5 separate regions of the Homo sapiens genome follow, and all the other regions are linked to region 4. Evidence: promoter capture Hi-C in 16 types of primary human blood cells and fetal thymus (Javierre and others, 2016). All regions are on one chromosome and are shown on one strand. Each heading gives the region's core, a stretch centred on a gene start or on the middle of the fragment in contact. The rest is flanking DNA. Distances are from core to core; before and after follow the strand shown. Region 1 holds the start of HEBP1 (heme binding protein 1). Region 2 overlaps ETV6 (ETS variant transcription factor 6). Region 3 overlaps ETV6 (ETS variant transcription factor 6). Region 4 holds the start of MANSC1 (MANSC domain containing 1). Region 5 overlaps ETV6 (ETS variant transcription factor 6).

Evidence for each region. Contacts are between HindIII fragments. The CHiCAGO score rates a contact against its expected background, and 5 or more counts as called.
Region 1: the fragment with the promoter of HEBP1 here is called in contact with the fragment with the promoter of MANSC1 in region 4 in 1 of 17 cell types (naive CD4 T cells); the score reaches 5.4 in naive CD4 T cells.
Region 2: a contact is called between a fragment that was not itself captured here and the fragment with the promoter of MANSC1 in region 4, in 1 of 17 cell types (neutrophils). The highest score is 5.7, in neutrophils.
Region 3: a fragment that was not itself captured here is called in contact with the fragment with the promoter of MANSC1 in region 4 in 1 of 17 cell types (naive B cells); the score reaches 6.1 in naive B cells.
Region 5: a contact is called between a fragment that was not itself captured here and the fragment with the promoter of MANSC1 in region 4, in 2 of 17 cell types (M1 macrophages and non-activated CD4 T cells). The highest score is 6.2, in M1 macrophages.

What each region holds. Positions count from the first base shown.
Region 1 is chr12:12,998,841-13,001,540 of GRCh38, reverse strand. It overlaps HEBP1 (heme binding protein 1), which reads left to right and starts at 1,276. Exons shown (of 4, transcript NM_015987.5): 1 at 1,276-1,504. The coding sequence starts at 1,427. The region is part of intron 2 of GPRC5D-AS1 (GPRC5D and HEBP1 antisense RNA 1); the gene reads right to left. It also overlaps the pseudogene HTR7P1. RefSeq lists silencers at 182-331, 1,092-1,211, 1,262-1,411. The HindIII fragment of the contact is 1,773 bases long and covers 419-2,191 here.
Region 2 is chr12:11,772,193-11,774,892 of GRCh38, reverse strand. The region is part of intron 2 of ETV6 (ETS variant transcription factor 6); the gene reads right to left. Among named protein-coding and RNA genes, the nearest start is that of ETV6, 120 kb to the right of the region's middle. The HindIII fragment of the contact is 2,933 bases long and covers 1-2,700 here.
Region 3 is chr12:11,746,794-11,749,493 of GRCh38, reverse strand. All of the region lies in intron 1 of ETV6 (ETS variant transcription factor 6), which reads right to left. Among named protein-coding and RNA genes, the nearest start is that of ETV6, 98 kb to the right of the region's middle. The HindIII fragment of the contact is 742 bases long and covers 925-1,666 here.
Region 4 is chr12:12,348,903-12,351,602 of GRCh38, reverse strand. It overlaps MANSC1 (MANSC domain containing 1), which reads left to right and starts at 1,361. Exons shown (of 4, transcript NM_018050.4): 1 at 1,361-1,525. RefSeq lists a silencer at 1,051-1,360. The HindIII fragment of the contact is 5,175 bases long and covers 1-2,255 here.
Region 5 is chr12:11,721,854-11,724,553 of GRCh38, reverse strand. The region is part of intron 1 of ETV6 (ETS variant transcription factor 6); the gene reads right to left. LOC124902879 (a long non-coding RNA gene) reads right to left here. Exons shown (of 2, transcript XR_007063212.1): 2 at 2,121-2,700. Among named protein-coding and RNA genes, the nearest start is that of ETV6, 74 kb to the right of the region's middle. RefSeq lists an enhancer at 80-299. The HindIII fragment of the contact is 1,349 bases long and covers 748-2,096 here.

The DNA of each region.
Region 1 (2,700 bases), core at 27-2,526, 650 kb before region 4:
CCCGTAGAGGTCCGGGTGGCCGCTGCTGTTAACATCCATCACTGCGCCGCCGTGTGGCGCTGCCCAAGAAGCCGCCCCACCCCCCTCCCCACCCCCGCGGCCGCCACAGGCTCCGGCTTTCGGCCCCGGGGCTTCAACTCGCCGGTTCCCCTCCGCCCGGCCCAGCTTGAGGCCTGCACCGGCCGCTGGGCAGCGCCAGGCTCGGCCTCGGGGCCCCGCCTGTCCCAGATCCCCGGCCGCTGCGTGAAACGCGAGAGCGCTGCCGAGCGGGGACTCCCTGAGGGAGGGACCTCGGACCCCGACGGACGCCCGGGACGCGCGGGCTCTCGGGCGCTCCGGCGGGGCTCGGCCCGCGGCTCCACAGCCCGCTGCACCCGCGCGGCTCGGAGCAATGGAGGATCAGGCAGCGGCAGAAGCTTCCGTTTCCTCCTTTTTAAATGGCTCCAAAATATTTCTTGTCGGTGGTGTGGAGTAGAGATTTATTGGTAAAATACTTGACAGAAAGCAGGCACTCAGCTGAGTAAATGGTGACAAAATTGGTGAGAAGATTTTTGAACAGGAGTGAACGAGAAAAGCCATGCTTAGAAAAGTCACCTGGAAACTGTGATTTAGAGGGATGGTAGGAAAGAGTGGCAGCAGGAAAGTGGTTTGGATGCTCTTTCAATGGTCTAGAAGAGGTCATGGGGCGGGGGTAGAGGGACAGCTACCAAGACAGGGAGCCTGGCCGCCGCTGTACCAGCGGGATCGAGCCTTCGGGTAGAGGACCGGAGAAGCGTGAGCAACCCGGGGCTCGGAGGTTGGAGCCCAGGCACCTGAGAGAGGACGTTCCCCACCACCGCTGCCTAAAGCCACTCCAGGCGAGAATCGCTTTCCAGGGCCCCAGCGGATAGGTTAGACTCAGAATAAGAGAAGGGGTCTGCGGAGGGGGACGGCCTGAGGCCCGCGGCCGGGTTCCCTCCCCAGACACCCGCGGAAAGCCCGAAAGGAGGCGGAACACGGCCCAGCGGCTCGCCACGGCGGGCCCATCCCTTGCTTAGCCGCCTCGCACCCTCGCCTCACCGCACTGCTGCACTGCTGCACTGCTGCCCTGCTGCCCGCCCTTCGCATCACTGACCCGCCCTCTCTCCGCCCCCTCGCCTCGCCGCCCCGCCCTCTCTCTCCGCCCCTTCACCTCGCCGTCCCGCCCCCTTGCCTCACCGCCGGGCTGAATTGCCGCCCCGCCCTCTAGCCACGCCCTCTGGCCCCTGCCTCTAGCCCCGCCTCTCGCCTCGCCGCCTCGCCGTCCCGCCGCCTTGCCGCCCTGCCACCCTGCCGCCCTGCCGCCCTGCCGCCCTGCCGCCCTGCCGCCGGTGGTCGCTGCCCGTGGTGCTCCGTCGCCCCCGCCACCTCACGTCCTCCCGTGCGTCGGGAGCGTCTCGGCTACAACATGTTGGGCATGATCAAGAACTCGCTGTTCGGAAGCGTAGAGACGTGGCCTTGGCAGGTCCTAAGCAAAGGGGACAAGGTAGGCCCGCAGGGCTGCCGAGGACCTGAAGGATTGCTGCCTCCCACCCCCACCCTCGTCGGGGCTGCAGCGGGTGCTGAGGGGCAGGTGGGGCAGGAATGTGCTATCGAAGGTGCGTTCTGGTGTCTGTCGCGAGTGCGGCTCTCCACCGCCCAGCATTTGGACTGGGAAGGAAAGGAGTGAGAGGTCCCCCTGCAGCCGGTGGTGAGAGGAGGGGGGTAAACAGGAGAGACTGATCCAAGGAGAGAATCCCAACTTGGGGAGTTGGGCACTGCCTGTTGAATGCATTCTTTCGTTTAAAATATTCCAAACATTCCGAACAGTTTGATTTGTTGAGAGACACTCGGTTGCAGAAATGAGTGTCGCAAGAAACTCCCAAGTACTAGAGAACTGCGGATAGTAGCCCCCTTTATCCGCGATTTCAGTTACCTGTGGTCAGCTCTTGTCCATAACTATTAAATGGAAAATTCCAGAAATACAGAAGTCCTAAGTTTTAAGTTTCCGGCCATTCTGCGTAGCAGGATGAAATCTTGATTCCTGGGACCGGAATGCCCCTTTGTCCAAGGTCAGCCTCCTATCTCTAGTAGCCGCCCTTAGTCACTTAGTAGCTAGCTTGGTGATCGGATCGACCGTGGCGGTATTGAAGTAACCCTTATTTTACTTAGTAATGGCCCCAAAGTGCAAGCTTAGCAATGCTGGCATATTGTTATAATTGCTGTTATTTTATTATTGTTGTTCATCTCTTACTGTGCCTAATTGATAAAGTTAAACTATATCATAGGTATGTATGTATAGGAAAAAACGTAGTAGATACAGGGTTCAGTTTTGTCCACCGTTTCAGGTATCCACTGGGGGGCTTGGAAGGTATCTACTATAGATAAGGGGGACTACTGTGTAAAAGAACAAGATCTGTGCAGAATAGATATAAATGCGCTACGCAGGGAGCACAGAGGCAGTCAATTCTGCCAGGGGGCTATGATGGGGACCTCAGTGGAGTGTCCTGAGCTGGGGCCTCAGGGATGTGTAGGAGTGCACACAACAGAGAAGAGCATGCACAAAGGCCCAGAGCTGTACCATTGCTTTTGGCCAGTTAGATCCTCTGGAGTTGGGTACCTAGAATACAGAATGAGTGAGAAGAGCATAATTGCTGTCTTCCCCCAAATTTATATCAGTGCTAACATGGGCTAACTGGACTG
Region 2 (2,700 bases), core at 17-2,516, 580 kb after region 4:
CTGCTGCATAAACTCAGAATTCCTGGGGGACATCTAAAGCAGTACCCTCTGTCATTCAGAGACCAGCTAACAAGTTGCTGGTTGTTCATTTTCTCCAAGTTCCTTCAAGGAGCAGTTTTGATGTGGTCCTCAGTACCGTGGCTGGCGTGCAGGCATGTATTTTACCAGCTTGATTGTGCTAGAAAAGGTGGTTAGCTGAAACAGGTTTACAGGTAACATACTTCAGACAGACTATGAGTTTTATATAATCTTTTGTGAGCCAAATGAAAACCTGGGCACCATTTATTTACATTTGTTTATTCCTCTTGGGAGGAGGGAAAGGTGCTTCGGGAGCCAACAAAGTTCTGGAACACAGACACTAAGGTATAGCTCATGCTTGTTATATCACATCCCTACAGGACCTAGGACAGGCAGGTGTGCAGGGCACTTTAACTGATGACATGAAGGCAGAGTCCATAGTCTCTTCACCTACATCCAGCCTTTGACTTTCTGAATTCTTCTCTCTGCACAAGCCCCAGTATTCTAACTGCAGACTCTCTTGCGTGGTTAACACACAGGATCTCTGTGCAGTTCCCTAGGTGGTGGGGCTGTTGTCAGGCCAAAATGAAATCCAGGCAGTTTGTTGACCAGGAAGAACATTGCTCAACCGTGGACCTGAAACTGCTCAGAACCTTCTCAACTCGCCCTCCTTTCTCATTTAACTCTCCTCCTTTCCTTAAAAGCAAAAACAAGATGAACAAATAAGCACCTCTCCTTTTCCTCCCCTTTCTGAGATCTGCCAACTTCCTCTTCCATGGGCCTTGTGGTTGGGTCTTGCTCCCAACGGTCTCTCAAACCCTCAGCCGGCTGAGCTCCAGGTCCGCCCTCAGTTGTGTGATGGCAACAGCCAGTCTCTGCCCGCTTCACTCTCTCTCTCTTCTCTGTGGCAGCACCCAGGAGACGGAGGAGGGCAGATGCCAGCCAGCGCAGCAGCAGGCAGCACTGCATTTCCCCAATGTTCAGGTCCACCACATCGGGTGATGCCTCCACAATGGCATTTGCAACGCAGCCCTGTGGAAGGGAGTTCCAGGAGAACCTCAGCTTCAGAGGACCGCCTTCCCAGACTTGGGGTAGACAGTCTAGGGTCTGTTTATGTTTTCCAAGATACCAAGTATAGTCCTCTTACAAATATGTGCACTGTTTTCCTCAACTGCCTTCATTTTCCTACCAGAACCCTGCTTATTTCTGAAAGTCTTTCCAGCCAGGCCATGAGAAAAGTGCTTCAAACACCTTGGACTGAGCCATGGATAAAGTCTCCTTCAAAGGGGTTCACAGCTATCATGGATCTCTTCCTTATAAGCAGAATAAACAATTTAAACTAGCGGATTACAATAAAATAATGTGTATTTATATTTGAACCAGACAGTGCCAATGTTCTGAAACTGGAATTTCACAATAAGGAAACCATGTTCTCAAATTCAACCTCTCCATCTTGTTCATTCCGACATCATGTCAAGAGCTTTTGCATTTTCCATTCAGTCTCACTGTAGTTGAGACTTGAGCAGAAAGATTTTTAATTAAAAAAAAATTTATATATATATATATGGCTCTTTGAGCTCTTGCTGAATTAAAAAAAATTCTTTATACCAACAAAGTAAACTTAAGACAAAAAGGTGACAAGGCAATAAGATCAAGATTTCATTTTTTTTTTTTTTTTTTTTGAGATGGAGTCTCACTCTGTCACTAAGCTGGAATGTAGTGGTGCAATCTCGGCTCACGGCAAGCTCTGCCTCCCGGGTTCACGCCATTCTCCTGCCTCAGCCTCCCGAGTAGCTGGGACTACAGGTGTCCGCCACCACACCCAGCTAATTTTTTGTATTTTTAGTAGAGACGGGCTTTCACCATGTTAGCCAGGATGGTCTGGATCTCCTGACCTTGTGACCCACCTGCCTCGGCCTCCCAAAGTGCTGGGATTACAGGCATGAGCCACTGCACCTGGCCAAGATTTTTCATACTTCAATCCTGATCTTGGACCTTCCCGAGACCAATCTTAGAAACAGCTTTATGGTATGAGCAATCTAAAGATCTTCCAACATCATGATTCTAAAATAAAAATTTTAGGCTTTTGTTGATTGAAGGTAGACCAGAGAGAATCACAAGGAAAGTTTAAATGGAGCATTACCATTCTTAGTTGTTCTTTTAATCATGCAGAATGGTGAACAGACGCTCTGACTTGGTGGTGGAAGAGAACTGCTAGTTTGTTTTAGTCAATATCAAGTCCATAGCTGACTTTTAGAGGAAATATGCAATCAATTACTTCCTTGACTCAGTGTAGTTTAACTCCCCTATACCCCAAAGATTAAACTCCTTAGAAATTTTGGGTGGGGAAACTGGTTTCCTTCAAATGTACACAACAGAAACCATCACCCCATCAATCAAACAAAGAATCTCATTTCAGAGTCTATCCAAGGCCAGGCATGGGCACAGACCTGATCACTGAAAACCATCTTTACTATTCGGACACCTTTGACTGTTGAGTCATAAGGTTTCCCAGGGAAGAGGTTCATGAAATTACCGAACTATATCACTGTTCTTCTGAATTCAAAAACATTCTCTTGTGGTTTAAGATAAACAGTGATCTCTGAGTCTTTCTGCAAACTAATAACCTTTTGCAACCAAGGTTCCAGAAAAATTAACCCCTCTGTTGGCTGCCTAGCTTCC
Region 3 (2,700 bases), core at 46-2,545, 600 kb after region 4:
AACCTCTTTACTCTCACAACTGCTTCTCTGGTGCGACCCCAACAAAGGAGGGGGTGGTGGTGAGAGTCCCACCTCTAAAGCAAATTGTCAGACAGATGAAAACCAGAGCTGCTTTCTTTCTTTTAACATTATGGGGAGTAGGGGTGTGTGTGTGTGTGTGTGTGTGTGTGTGTGTGTGTGTGTGTGTGTGTGTGTGTGTGTGTGTATGGGGGGGATAACGATTTTCCCAAGAGGATTATAACCGCTGCTCTAATTAAATTAAAATGCTACAGACAGTGATATTAATGTATTCAAGTGTTGTAGGGGGATAAACTGCTGGTGGAGGTCAATGATGTGACTCAGAATGCCGTGATGTGGTTACATTATTGTTTAGATGCTGTAAAAAATAAAACACGCTGCTCTCAAATTTGCAGATACAACCTATCAAGCCAACCAGCTGAACAAAAGGGAAGCACTGCAATTTCTGAGGCCAATTGTAATACCTATGAGCAGGTTGTCAAGGAGGCGGCACAAAGCGCTGGGAAGAGAAAATAAGGCAGAAAACTGTTGTAGGCAAGAGTTGAAATGTAAATTTCACCAACCATTATAGAAAGCTTTAAAAAAAATAATGAAGTATGGAGTAGGGTTGTCTCTTGAAAGCGTAAGGACTGAAGCCAAAATGAGCTGCGTTCCCTCTCCCATTTCTCCCCTAGCCATGAAGGGCCAATGAAGGGTACCCATCTAATTCTGCTCATTTTTAAACTGAATGCTTAGGAGCCCGTGACTTCCCTGTAAAATAGGTGTATACAGTCTGTGCTCAGTAGGAGAATGGCATTTCTCCACGTTCCCCCACACCCACCCTCAGGTTGCATATTACAGAAGAGTCAAAAAATGAATATTATTACCAAAAGGTCTTTCCTCTTCAAAATTATTCAATATAAAGCTTCCATAAATCACGGGGATCCCCTAGCACATTTACACATTTATTATTATACCCTCTGAAAAGGCTGAGGGGTTGGGAAACTTAGAGCCTACTGCTAACTAAATATTAACATTCTGGAAATAAAGCATTTTTGGAATTAATTAAAACAGAAATAAAGTTGGTTGTGCTTGCAAAAAGATGGTTTGCAGGTAATTTCAAAGATTTCTCTGCTGCAGAACTGAGATGTCCTTGATATAGAAACTTTTCCTGGAAATTGTCCCTATCCCCATTATAAATGCCAGGACTGCCCCCAGTGATGGCTTCTGAAGCCTAGTTTGAAAGTCCTGAGGAGGAAGAGTGTCATGGACACAGGATAGTGGTCATTTCCCCACAGCTAGGGTAAAAATGCCACAGGCATGCTTTCATCCCATTGCACTTCGGTGTCCCATCACTGTGAAGAAACCTGCAACCCAGATAAGATGGAAAACAGCAGGCACCAGTGACAAGAGTGGTCATGCCAGCAATATTCAGTATTTTGAGAGAAGGATCTCTTTTCCACCCTGCAGGTGTTTAGAAAAGCTGCCTGAGAAAGCTGATGCTTGTACCGTCGTCAACTTCTACAGATTCAACAGAAGAAACCTCTCCTATGGGAAGCTATTTATTGAAATTTATTAAAGTGAAGTCTGAATACACAAGTATTTAAGTACACTCTTCTGGCTGCAAAAATTTCAAGTGGTGGTGATGTTGGCTTTCATTAAGTAAGCTTTTATTAACAAGCTATAGACACATTAACAAAAAATTGAATACGCTGAAATTTGAGCTCTAGAGTTTTCTAGGTTTCTGCCACCAGGAAAGCACAGATATACACAAGAACCTAAAGTAATACACTCTTGAAAGTCGACATTTTTTTCACTTGAAAAAAGCTATTGAATATTTTGTCCACTCCAAAATTCAGTGAGACAAACGTAAAGAATTTGAGAGAAGATGCAAATGCCAGTCTTCTTTTCTAAATAGACATTGTACACACAGCCACAGAGAGTAACATTTTTGGAATCTCCCCAGAAAGAAAGAGCATACCCTAGCATCTCGGCTAGAAAGAACACCACAGAGACTCAAATGCAAATTTTGATGTAGCAAAATCCACATCCACCAAATCACAGAAGTGAAGTTCATGATTTCTTTTCATCCAGAGAGTTACCAGAAGATGGTTTAGACATCCAAGATGGTATAGGGGCCCAAGCTGGCTTTCTTCTTGGTGTCCAGTGTCCCCCCTGCCCTGAAAGCAACATCCCTCTGGATGCTAAGCCATTAATTTTTACAAGCCAAATGGTGTTTGGGTCTCAACATTCATCTTGCAGAATACATATCAGTACTTCCAAGGGGAAAAAAATGAGTGTACCCTGTGAAAATGAGGATGGGTAGGAACTATACTCCTAGCATCTGAAGTCTCCTCTCTAGGTTACCCAGATGGCCCACTCAGCCCTTGGGGAGAGGGTACGCCAGACAAACCAAACTCAATGTTGCTGTGGGGATCTTCCAAGGAGCCCGCTTCACCAGTCTTAAGGAGTGCCCTTTCTCTAGTTTATGTAGATGGTTCAGGACGTGAGATATTCGGATTCCTGTTTAGAACTGAAATTGTCCCTTTCTTCTGCCTTTCTGGATGGTTACATCCTAAAATCAGAAGGCAGTATATTGCTTCTGTCAAGCAGATACAATTAAGTCAAAGCATCTTAAGTCTTCCTCTTACCCAGACCTGTATTATCTTTGCATAGTGAGATTAAAAAAAAAAAAAAAAAAAA
Region 4 (2,700 bases), core at 112-2,611:
ACAAAACAAAAAAAGAAACAGGTTCATTGTATTAAAGCACCGAATACGAAGTTTCTAATAATGGAAAGGTCTACTTTGTAACTAGCATGGATTACCCCATGTAGAGAGATTCAAAAACTGTGATAGCTCTACACCCTGAACCCTGAAGTGTATCAGATGATAAAAGATAAAACACACTTGCAGATCAGTCCCTTGTTGCATCAGGAAAATCACTGCAATGGGAAATTACTCTGGTGTTTACTTTTCTTTGGTAACTCTTTCAAACCTAGCTTTAGCAACATTGTAATTCAAGAGTCATCCTTTGGTTACAAGTAGAGTTAGTTTCACACAATGGACCTTTGTTCACAAGCATTCTCAGTCAACCTAATCCTCCTGTAGTTATTGGTTAAGACTAGGGTGTGTAGCTGTTGGCCGTACAGGCCTAGACTTAACTTGCAATTGCATAGCGCTTCAGGTCTGCAAGCTCTTTCAAAACAGAGGTGAAGATACTGTCAAAGGTTAGACCATATGGCAAACTAAGTGTCAATGGTTTAGTAACGTTGCATTTGTGTGTGTGTTTATGGAGGTGGGGATGGGGCCAGCAGTAATTTAGAAACTTCCACAACCTATGCCCTATGCAGTTCTTTTCCATTCATTCAGTCAACAAAAATATTTTAGTTAAATATTTACTGAGCACCTATTGTGTACCAGGCACTATGCTAAGTGTTAGGGATACAGTTTTAATATATGTTACAGACACCAGCATTTTCACCATTATTATCCTATCTACAAACAATAAATCCCGCAGAAAGCCAAATACCTTCCCTGAAGTTTGTCTTGCAGATAATATTTAACTCAAGAATTGCCATCTTTAATTGAGGACTCCATCCTCCAATTATGGAAAGAGGATTCTCAGAACTATGCCCCCAATAGGATGCACTATAAGCCCTTGAACATCAAAAAACTGCTCTCAGTGGTTGCCTCTGAGGAGGGAGACTAGGAGACTGGGGCACGGGGGTGAGGGGTAGACTTGTCTCTGTGTCTATTTTTGTACTGTTTGACATTTTCCCCATGTGCATTTATTTTAACTTGCGCGGGCCGCGAGGCAAGGCTCACCTGCAGACCCTCGGGCCACCAGCAGGGAGGCACGCACTCCCCCTCGCAGCGCGCCCAGCCCGGGGTCAGCGGTGTGGCTGAGCTGGGGGGGAGCGCGGGGCGGTGGGGGGAGCCACCTCCCTGCGGGGCTCAGCGCTGGGGCCGGGAGCCCGGAGCCTCCGCGGGGAGGGACGCGCTAATGTTGCCGGGAAGCAGCTCCGGGTTGCAGGGCAGGAACGTGCCCTTCCCCCGCGGCAAACTTGCCGTCGCTGCGACGGAAGCAGGAACTTGCTAACCACAAAACCCGCCAGGCCGGTGCGGGAGCTGCGGAGCATCCGCTGCGGTCCTCGCCGAGACCCCCGCGCGGATTCGCCGGTCCTTCCCGCGGGCGCGACAGAGCTGTCCTCGCACCTGGATGGCAGCAGGGGCGCCGGGGTCCTCTCGACGCCAGGTAAAGGGGTCTCCCCAATACCCACCCCCGACCGGCCGCAGGCGACGTCGCTACCTGCGGAGAGAGTCGGTCCCCTCCTTTCCAGGGGCCGAGGCTCCTTCACCCACACCCGAGCATCCAAAGGACCAGCTGGGGCCAATAAGGGCTGACCAGGATCCTTGAGTCGCTGCAGTATTCCAAAGGGGACCTCTAGGCGGGCTCAAGGCACCTGCCATAAATGGCTCTGGCTCTGCGTTGACATCAGAAGGAGAGGCAGAAGAATAGCTCAGTAGGCAACATGCATTTCCTCAAAGGAAGAGAAAATGTTCCCTGTTTTCTTGTCGTTGACTCTGTATTCATTATTGAAACTGCTAATTGTCTAATTCTCTGTAGAGTGTGTGTGTGTATACAGTTATAAGCATCTTGGTAAATTATAGTGTGCTGTAAGACGATTTCCAATATTTGAACTAATTACGTGCGAGTAAGTTTTAGCGACTCTTGTATGCAGACGTTAAAACTCAGGGGCATCCTCTCTCACCCGCCTGTATCCTTTTACCCCGTCTTTCAACAAGATTCAACTCGACTTCAGGCCCTTAAAGCCTAAATAATAATGGATTAGAAAACGTCGCTAACCTAATATTGCTGAGCCTCTTTAATGATATAAAACTCTTAAACACTTCTCTCAATGCTGCATACTGAAAACAACTCCTGCCCCATCTCCTTACATAGTTCAGGTTTCTTTGCAAAAGCTTGAAAAGAGGCTACATTAGAATCCATTCAAAATAAAGTATTGGCCTGGTTTTCTCTTGATTCCCTAGAGGCTTGCAAAATATGGCAGCGTATTAAGTACCTTGGCCAGAATTATTAACCTGGGGAGTCCACGATAAGGTATCCATGGATAGAATTCAGGATGTCTGTGAACTTGAGTGGAAAAAATTATTATTTCACCGACTTCTGAAATGGAATGTAGGCAAAAGCCACAGTAGTATTAGCAGTAGCTATGATTTGCCCCCTGTAAATATTGCCGATATCTTTATATCACATGACTTGTTGCACGTTTCAAAATATTATCTATACTCAATACCACGTCAAAATTATGGCAGTTATTAGATGACCACTTGTTACTTAATAGGTTAATAAAGAAGCACATATTATGTCCCACAACTTTTTGTAAGTTTTAACTAAAATGAGGATAA
Region 5 (2,700 bases), core at 173-2,672, 630 kb after region 4:
CTCTGCTAGTATCTAGCAGAGTAACCGGCATATAGTAGACTTTCAATGTTCATTTAATACTCAGCCATAGGGCAAGCAAAGAGAAACAATGAGGAAATAGACCCTTGAAAATCACACCGCATACAGATTCTCCCCTAAGTATAAAGTCTCCTGGTACTGATGGGCACAGGCCCACTCCACGTGATCGGCTCAAAATACTAAGGATCCACGAACAGGCCTTGCAGCTTTCTCCCAAACCATACTCCTTTCTCTGGGAGCTGCCTGCCAAGAAGGCTGCGCATGGAAACCTTAAACCTTGCTGTAAGCCCTGGCCACATCAATGGTGCAAAAGTAGCCCCTATCAGGACCTGTCAAGGGGAAACCTGAGCTGCAAGAGTAACTGGAGACTCAGGCAGCTGACCTGCTTACGATCCCTTAGTTGAGAGTTTAAACCAACTGTAACTGGGCAGTACTTGACAACCAGCTTCCCTAATGAGACCAAGAGTTAGGAGAGCTGACACACAGCACCCTCAGGTCAGGGGTGGGGGAGGGAGTATGCCACCACTGCACGGGTCAGAGAACATAGGGTGACTTTAAAGGCCCTGTTCTTCCTCTGGGCACCCCCGAGAGTGTAGGTCCGGCCCTCCCAGACCAGGACTCCTATGCTCTTCCTGGGGACTCTCAATGACACCTGGCCTTGTCCCAAGGAATACTCGTTTTAAAGATTTTTGATGGGTGGTCCAGGTAGAAGCTAGTGAAATAAAAGCTTTCTCAATGGTTGGTGATGCCACCTTGTCTTGACATGTGGGCCCCTGCAGTTGGGGAAAAGAAAGAGCAGAGGCCAAATTTACCAATGTGTTGGTCAAGGAGAGGCCAGGATAGGACAAAGGAAGAGAAGGGAACCCTGATAGATAAACCCTGTTTGATTTTTAAGGATAACGAGATTCAAGTAATTAATGTTCACCAAACTCCTACTATGTGCCGGGTACCACGCTGGAATAAAAGGCAAAGAACAGGTGAACAGTCCTGAAAAAACTCACAAAGGTCATACTTTATAACTAAGGTACATTTTCTTTTTCATTTAGAATGGATTAATTTTGTCACAATATGGCTTTTGAAGAGCAAGAAAGAATGGAAGGGAAAAAGGAATAACTGAAAGTGGAAGAAAGAAGGCAAGCAGGACATGGGAAAGGAGGGAGAGTGCGTTGTGGGTATTAAATGTGATAATCCTTGCAAAGTACTGAGTCAATCTCTGGCCTATAGTAAGTGCTCAAAAAATATCAGTCACTATATTCATTGTTACAGAGAGCCTATAACCGTGTCATACTAACCTACAATGCACACTTGCCATAGAGCAGGGAATGTTCTAAGGGCTTATCACATATTAATTCATTTAATACTCACAATCCTATGAGATATTAGGATTCCCATTTTACAAATGAGAAAACGAGGGTACAAAGAGATTCTGTAAACTATCAACTACCCAGTCACACAACTACCAAGTGAGAGATCTGAGATTCAAGCCCAGGTAGTCTGACTTCGGAGCTCAGCTTCTCATTGGTTTCACCTGTGGTTATTAAAGTGCGGTCCCTGGAACCGGGAACTTCTCAGATTTGCAAATTCTTTGTCCCACCCCAGTCCTACCAAATCAGAAACTCTGAGAGAACGGCCCAGCAACTGTTTCTAAAAGCCCCTGAGGTGATTCTGAGGAACACCAGAATTTGAGCACCTCTGCATTAATTACATTACAGTGCTTCTCCACGTAGTGGCTAAGTTAAGGCAGATAAGAAAACATCACTTCCTCCCCGGATCTGGCCTCACCTGGCAATGGGCAAAGGTCAAAATATTTGGGTTGTCCATTTCTCTCAGTTTAGGGCCTGGCCTACAACTGGGGTTTGGGAGAGTAACTTCAATTCTCTTCATTTTAGGAGAAATCAGTTTGGCTTTTCTGACTTTACTCTTTGACGTAGAAAGCCTAGGAGAGAACAACAGGCCTTGAATATTCTTAGAATAGTTTAACTCCTTCATAACGTCTGAACATCAGTTAGCAGATTTAATAGGCTGCAGTGCCCCAAAATGTCCACCATTAGATTAAAAATGAAACTTAAAAGAAAGCTTTGCTTCCAGTGTGTTAATTTAGCTTCCAACAATGCCTAGCAGGTGAATGTATCTCTACATTTTACTGGAGTTAACTCAATTATTCAAAGCGATTACAGTTTGTGGATTATCTGAGCCTCCTTCTTCTCCTCCCTGGAGCTGCTCACCTTTTGGCCATTTCACTGTTCATTAGCACCTCTACTGAAGATACCCAGGGGAGAATAAAAGGTGAGGAAACTCAAACCAGTCGACTTTTCTCCTTGTTAGCAGTTCTGATAAAGACTTGGTGGGAGAAGAATTATTATTGGCTAAAACAAGACACTGGGATTATCTATGGCTTCAATTTTCCATGCTCTCCCAGCCCCTAATTATCAGATACAGTCAAGTCAGCCTAACTTTATAGTGACAGCCCAGTCTACAAGTGAGCAGGGGCATAATATTCAAATTCTAGAATTTCCACAGAGGTAACCTATGATACCTTCTTCCTTAAATTACAGCTCTCAAAAATGCCAGGGTGATGGACAACTTTGATCACAGGTGAAAAGGCTCAAAAAGAGATCCCACAGCATTTTAACAGCTGACTTTTCCCACCATTCAAACTTTCTATGACCTAACAGAATATGT